Regions from separate parts of the Homo sapiens genome. Here region 2 is linked to region 1. The links are contacts of gene promoters, found by promoter capture Hi-C in blood cells and fetal thymus (Javierre and others, 2016). All regions are on one chromosome and are shown on one strand. The core of a region is centred on a gene start or on the middle of the fragment in contact, and the rest is flanking DNA. Distances in the headings are between cores, read along the strand shown.

Evidence for each region. Contacts are between HindIII fragments. The CHiCAGO score rates a contact against its expected background, and 5 or more counts as called.
Region 2: a contact is called between a fragment that was not itself captured here and the fragment with the promoter of WNT11 in region 1, in 1 of 17 cell types (megakaryocytes). The highest score is 5.1, in megakaryocytes.

The regions. Positions count from the first base shown.
Region 1 is chr11:76,205,110-76,209,057 of GRCh38, reverse strand. It overlaps WNT11 (Wnt family member 11), which reads left to right and starts at 2,556. Exons shown (of 5, transcript NM_004626.3): 1 at 2,556-2,733. The coding sequence starts at 2,651. RefSeq lists enhancers at 1-97, 1,432-2,099 and silencers at 1,204-1,423, 2,404-2,643. The HindIII fragment of the contact is 7,460 bases long and covers 1-3,588 here.
Region 2 is chr11:75,921,330-75,924,709 of GRCh38, reverse strand. The region is part of intron 6 of UVRAG (UV radiation resistance associated); the gene reads right to left. Among named protein-coding and RNA genes, the nearest start is that of UVRAG, 110 kb to the right of the region's middle. The HindIII fragment of the contact is 1,368 bases long and covers 1,288-2,655 here.

The DNA.
Region 1 (3,948 bases), core at 1,307-3,806:
GGAGAAGCGGGGGCCCAGGAAGAGGACTTGACCCCAGCCCGCGACGCAGGAGGCAGCCGCGATTCCCCCCTCCTCGAGCCCCGGCTTAGCGCCCCCTGGCGGGCTGGGGGCTTCAGGAGGCGCGTGCACCCTGACCCGCGAGCTCAGGCGGAAGGTGACCCCGTGGCCTGCGCGGCTGTCCCGGGCGCTCGTACAAGGGACAGGAACAGTCCGTCAGGACCCAGAGGCTCGGGCCAGGCGCTGCCTCCCCGCGCGACGAGCTTGGGCGGCGGAGGGAGAGCCTTGGGACAGCCGGGGCTGCACCGAAAGAGCTGGGCGGGGCTGGAGGCCTGGGTCCCCGTCCGCTGTGCGACCTAGGGGGCTCCTCCTCTCCCTGGGAGACCAGGCTGGACACAGATCCCCCGCTGTGAGTCCGCGCGCCTCCGTCCTCTTGCAGCCCCCGCCCCCTCCCCACCCAGGAATGCCGGGTGCCTTCGGGGGGCGGCGCACTTTGGGAGAGGGGAAGACGGTGACTGGAGTTTTGATTCCCCCCTCCATATCCAGCGGATATTTTTCTCGTTCTGAGAAGTGCAAGAAACTTGCAGGACCAGGAAGACAAAGGATTTGGATACAGGCTGGGTGGGAGGACGGGACTGGGTTACACCGAGAACCCCTCTGAGACCCCCAGCCTTGACGGCATGTTTGTCGCAGGCGCCCCTGTGCTGGGCGCTAGCTGCGGGGCTCTGCGGAGGAAAAAAACTGTACGATCCAGGCTTCTCCTCGCCTTCCTGTGGGTTTTGCCGACAGGCTCCAGAAAACAGTGGGGCTTCCCATCTCTGCGTGCTGACTACCCACGCGCAGGAACGCGCCACGCAGGTGGCGTCGCGGTGCAAATAGCAGAGGGGCGCTGAGCCCCGCAGGCTGCAGGGAGACGGGGTCCTCGGGGGACGCACGGCGAAGCCCCATTCCTCGTTCTTATGGAAGGGGACACCGAGGCTGGGGTGGCTGAGGGCTTGCCCAAGCTCACAGAGCCAGATAAGAACGTCCCTTTTCTGCTCCAGCGCCCCCACTACCGTGGGCGCCTCCTTTTCCAACTCCCCAAACCCTTAGAAAGGAATCCCTTTGTCTCTGCTCCTCCCGAGGGGAGAGGGGCTGGGGCTGTGTCTGACTCCGGGCGAACGCCAGGTGTTGGTAAATTTGGGAGAAGCTGGGAAGGGAGTTAATGAGGTGAGAATGAAGTGAAGGAGAAAAAAAGCGGAGATAGCTGCTCCGCGGGCTGCGGGCGGGCGGGGCAGCCTCTCCTCCGCGGCCCGAGGGCGCCGCCTGGAGGCCAGAGGCAACACCGCGCCAGCCCCGCGAGCTTCCCCGCTTCGCTAAGGCGGGGCTGCCCAGTCCCAGCCCGCATGCTTCCACTCCCACCCTCCAAAGTGGAGCGGCTAAAGACGGACTTGGAGACTCGGAATCCTCACTGTACAAAGAGCCCTACCATCCCGTTTCCCATCCTCCCCTTCCCACACCGAGAAAGCAGGGCCCCGAGCAAGCCCCATTTCCTGATTTCGCCGGACACCCGGCTTGCCGCTCCCTAGCTGAACCCCACCTCTGTGCCTCAGTTTCCTCATCTGTGAGATGAGGCAGCGATAGTGCCTATCTCACGGGGTGCTGGGAGGAGCAGATGCGATCGTGTTAGGGAACTTTTTTTGTTTGTCTGTTTGTTTGAGACGGAGTTTCGCTCTTGTCGCCCAGGCTAGAGTGCAGTGGCGCAATCTCCGCTCGCTGCAACCTCCGCCTCCCGGGTTCAAGCGGTTCTCCTGCCTCAGCCTCCCGAGTAGCTGGGATTACAGGCGCCCGCCACCACGCCCGGCTAATTTTTTGTATTCGTAGTAGAGACGGGGTTTTGCCATGTTGGGCAGGCTGGTCTCGAGCTCCTGACCTCAGGTGACCCGCCCGCCTCGACCTCCCAAAGTGCTGGGATTACAGGCGTGAGCCACCCTGCCCGGCCAGGGAACGTTCTTTATAAAAGCGGAATTGTGCCCGAATTGCCCCAGCTTACTGAGGAGGTAAACTGAAACACGTTTGGGAAGGAGAATTGCCGAGGCCCTATTAACTAATGCTCAATATTGCAGGGATAAGCCCCAGCTCCGGGTCCTCGACTCTGCTGCCTCGCCTGGACTCCTGATTCCTCATTCCTCTCCTTTCCGTCCCAGGTTGCGTCTGTCCGGGTTTCCCCCTCTGTCTCCGTGGCTCTCAGCCTTGTCCTCTGAGCGTCCTTCTCCCTCTCGCTGTGTCTGCCCGGTCTCTCCTGGGTCTCCGGTTCTGCCGCCTCCTGTCCCTCCTTCCGGCTGCCCCGGCCAGAGGGGCTCGAAGGCGCGTTGGGGCCCGGGGCCACGCTGGGAGACACGCCTTCGGCCGCGCCTAATTCGAGCCAGGCGCGGGACGCGTCCCCCGGCCGGGCGGAGCGGGAGGGGACGCCCGCCGCGCTCGGCCTCCCCGGGCCCCGACCCCTCCTTTGTAATTTGAATAAAACGCCTCCCCCGCCCGCGCGCCGCCTTAACCCGCCGCCTCCGCTCTCCCCGGCTGCAGGCGGCGTGCAGGACCAGCGGCGGCCGTGCAGGCGGAGGACTTCGGCGCGGCTCCTCCTGGGTGTGACCCCGGGCGCGCCCGCCGCGCGACGATGAGGGCGCGGCCGCAGGTCTGCGAGGCGCTGCTCTTCGCCCTGGCGCTCCAGACCGGCGTGTGCTATGGCATCAAGTGGCTGTGAGTAGGGACCCCGCGTCCACGCGCACAGGCCAGGGACTGGGGCGGCGGAGGGCGTTTTGGGGTCCCCTGGATGGGGCGAGCGCACCAAGACCCGGGAGCCTAAGCTGGCTTGGCGGTCGTGGGCAAGTCATCCCTCAGCCTCTGTTTCCTCCTCTGTAAAATGTCCCTGCCTCCCGCAGGCTTGCGAAAAGGGAGTGAGACGGGCGTGGACCACAATGGAAGCGCCTGGTCCTGTGCAGCTGACGGTGGCGCAAGGGCCACGGAGTTTCTGGCCACCTCCGCAGGGGCAGATGGAAAAAGACATTCTGTTCAGGGGGCGCAATCCAGAGCGGCCAGCCCAGGAGCGGTCCTTGTCCGTCAGTCTCCTTGACCCTAGCGGGAGTTCCGCTGAGACACTCCTGACCCCTCCACCTGGGCGACCTTGGGAAAGTGTCACTCTACTTCTTGGGGCCTCCTTGTCCTCCTCTGTCACGGGAGGGTGAGACTCCCCACCTCCCTCAAATCAGATGAGAAGAGGCTCCTGAAAGGACCTCAGAAGCTGTCAGATGCCACTGTGCACATGTGCAGGGCATTCCTTTAGATAGAAATTATTCACGCAGGGGTAGGAGGGAGAGAGAGGCTTGGTGCCGAGCTGAAGGGAGTGCCTGCTCAGGGGGCTGGGGGTGGTGAAGAGAGGAGTAAACACCAGCCCCTTCCCGGAGGAGCTGCGCTCTAAGTTGAGAGAGATAAGCCCAGGCTGTAAATAACTCCACAAGTGTCCAAGTGCCCGAGGAGAAACCAGAGCGGGAATCTGGAGGCCTAGAGGAAGGAAGCCCACCTGGTGGGGACACAGATGTGAGACACCGGGAAGCTTTTCCGAGGCTGTGCCTCTGGTGACTGAAGCGCTGCTGGGAGTTGGCTGGTTCGGGCAATGGAGAGGACGCTGTGGGCAGAGGGGCTCCCTGAGAGGGAAAGTCCAGGACAGGACAAGGGTCTGGAATCTGGGGCCAGGGCAGGGAGCCTGCAGATAAGACAGCAGGGGGCAGGTTGTGGGGGCTGGGGAGGGCGCTGCAAAGGGTTTGTGAATTAGTTGGAAGACAGGGTGATAGTGGCTGCGCCGCCAGCAAACAGTCTGGAGGTCACTGGCCCTGCCCCTTCTCAGGCCAAGTTATTGATTAATTGACGATTCGAGGAGGGAACCCCGTCTTCCTGCCTTTCTTGTTTACAAGAAGC
Region 2 (3,380 bases), core at 722-3,221, 280 kb after region 1:
TAATTTAAAAACAATGCTTTCAGGCCAGGCACGGTGGCTCCCGCCTGTAATCCCAGCACTTTGGGAGGCCGAGGCGGGTGGATCACGAGGTCAGGAGATCAAGACCATCCTGGCTAACACGGTGAAACCCCTTCTCTACTAAAAATACAAAAAAAAATAGCTGGGCATGGTGGTGGGCGCCTGTAAGTCCCAGCTACTTGGGAGGCTGAGGCAGGAGAATGGCATGAACCTGGGAGACAGAGCTTGCAGTGAGCCAAGATCATGCCACTGCACTCTAGCCTGGGTGACAGAGCGAGACTCCGTCACAAAAAAAAACAAAAACAAAAAAAAACACAATGCTTTCAACATGAATTTTTCATTAGCATGCACTGTATCCAAAATGAAATATTAAATTATTTTATATATAAAATATACTATAACTGTGGCAAAACATATCCAAGGTTAGTACTAATCATCTTTGGAAAGGTAATTAAAAATCTACCATTTAAAAAATTCCTCAAAAAATCTACCTGGTTCAGTTATTATCCAACAGGATTATATTTCACCCATTTCTTCATTCATTCATTTAACAAATATTTGCTGAGCATTCGCTCTGAGCCAGCTTGGTGCTATATGCTAGGAACAACATTGTAAACTGAGATATAAATTCCCTGAACGTATATAGTCCACATTCTCCATTCTCATTCTGAGAAACACTTTAAGGCAAAAGTATCTGAAATATTTTGTTTTAGTTTACATGAAAAAAGTTATTACAATTTCAACATCAGAGAGCATCCTGTCCAAGAAGAGGTCATAATGTAACAACATTTCTAACTACAACATTAGAGTAGTTTCTGGTCTTAATTAGAAAATGTGCTGTAAATTATTGAAATTATTAAAAGAATTATAAAATAAAACTATGTGCATTATTTCAGCAATAATGTTGGAAATCTAGAGGAAATAGGTGGTTTCCTACCAAAAAACAAATTCCAAAATAAACCAAGGAGAAGCAGGAAAAAATGGACAGAGCGATGAGTACTAAAGGGATTGAAAGAAGATTTACCCTTATAAAATGCACCTGAACTGGATGATTTACTAGCTAAGTCCTAACCTTCAAAGAACTAAAAACTTTCAAAATTATTTAATCTGTTTCAGATGGTAATGATGATAATGATAGCTGACACATACAATTCAGGCACTGTACTAAGCAGTTCACATTAATACCTTTCATCTTCCCAGCGATCCAGAGACAAATGCTATTATCATCATCATTTTACAGATTAGGATCATAGAATAAGATGGAAAGCTTCACAATTCATTCACAACTCAATTTTATGATTTTGGGAGAGACGGTAATTTATACCTCCCCCCATAACAACAACACAACTGCTAAAAACTAATCTTGCTTATAAGTAATGATCAAAAGAATAACCTATAACTAGTCAGTAATACAACACTGGGAAATCCACATACCTTATTACAATTATAAAGGAAGAAAATATATAATATTAATAAATGTGGAAAGGCATTTCAAAAAATTCAGCAACCAATCCTAACAAAAGCATTAAGTGAATAAAAAGAATTATTTAAAATATTTTCCTTTTTGAGGCGGAGGTTGCAGTGAGTCAAGATCGAGCCATTGCACTCCAGCACGGGCAACAAGAGCAAAACTCCGTCTCAAAAAGAAAAAGAAAAAGAAAAACGAACATATATATATATATATATATGAAAAAATATATGTATATATATTTTTTTCTTATATATATATGTTCGTTTTTCTTTTTTTTTTTTTCCTTTCAGATGTAGTTTCGCTCTTGTCGCCCAGACTGGGGTGCAGTGGTGCAATCTCGGCTCATCACAACCTCCGCTGCCTGGGTTCAAGTGATTCTCCTGCCTCAGGAATTACAGGTGCGTGCCACCACGCCCAGCTAATTTTTGTATTTTTAGTAGAGACGGGGTTTCGCCATGTTGGCCAGGCTGGTCTTGAACTCCTGACCTCAGGTGATCCACCTGCCTAGGCCTTCCAAAGTGCTGGGATTACAGGCATGAGCCACCACGCCCGGCCAATAGTTTTCAAAATTAACAGAAAATATTCTGAACAGCAAACTACTGAACTTTTTCAATTAGAACAAGGAACTGGGATGGTCACAATGCCTATTACTTTTCAACATTATTCTGAAAGTTCCAGAAGGTTTAGCAAATGCAGTAAGTCTAGAAAATCAGTATAAACATTAGAGAAGAAAAGCCTATCCTTTTACTGATGATAATGTGTATGCCAAAAAAGGAGAGCTTTCCTTAAAAAAACAATAGCAATAAAAACAATTAGATATATTACTAAATATAAATAAGATTTTCCTAGAAGTATAGCTTTTCCTTATAATAGCAGTAAGCACACAAGAATGGAATGGAACACCTATTTTATACAAAATACTGTAAAAACTATAACATACTTAAGAACAAATGTAACAGAAAGCCAAATGACCATATAAAGAGAACTACAATCTTGTTGAAGGAATAAAATAAAATATAAACAAATGAAAAGACACCATGTTCTTGGATGGGTATACTAATATAAAATGACATCTTTCCCAAAATAATTGTAAAACTTCAACTGATATAAAAATTTCGATTAAAATTCCAATAAGATTGGTCTTTTAAAGTAGGATAAAATAAGCTTAAAGTTCACATAAAAGAATAAAGTTCTGAGAATAGCCAAAAATAGTATCAAAAAGAAGAGTAGCAACAGGACGTGCCTTACTTGATTTTAGACCACACAAAAAAATCCCCTGTAGTTAAATCAATCTGAAAGTTACAAAATACACAAAAGGATAAGATAAACAAAAAAAGAGCGAATCCAGAAATAGATCCCAGTATATATGCACTTTTAATATATTACAAAAGTATTATTTAAATTCAGTGGGAAAAGAAAGGTGCTGGCACAATGAATTCATCTATGAAGAAATAATTTCTACCTTACAAGATATGGACTATCTATACTAGATATCAGTGTGCAGATGGGTGGATTAAAAGAAAAAAAAAATAAATTGCAATTTGTATTAAATATTTAATTTAAAAAGTAAAATAATATAAATCTCAAAGTTAGCAAAAAATATCTATAGAAGCAAGGTATAGGAGAGTCCTCTTCAACTCAAGAGTGCCCAGAAAATATAAAACAGAAAACAGAATTACACGATACAACAAATATGAACTTTTTGTATAAGGTATCATAAGTCAAGATGTAATTGTCAGATTTGGGAAAAAAATACCAAGTACTCTTAGGAACTTATGAGAAAAATGCAAGCAACTCAATTTTTAAAAACTAGGTAAAGTAAATGAATAGGCAAATTCACAGAAGAATACCCTAAATAGCTAATAAGCTTAAGAAAACATGTTAAATTTCA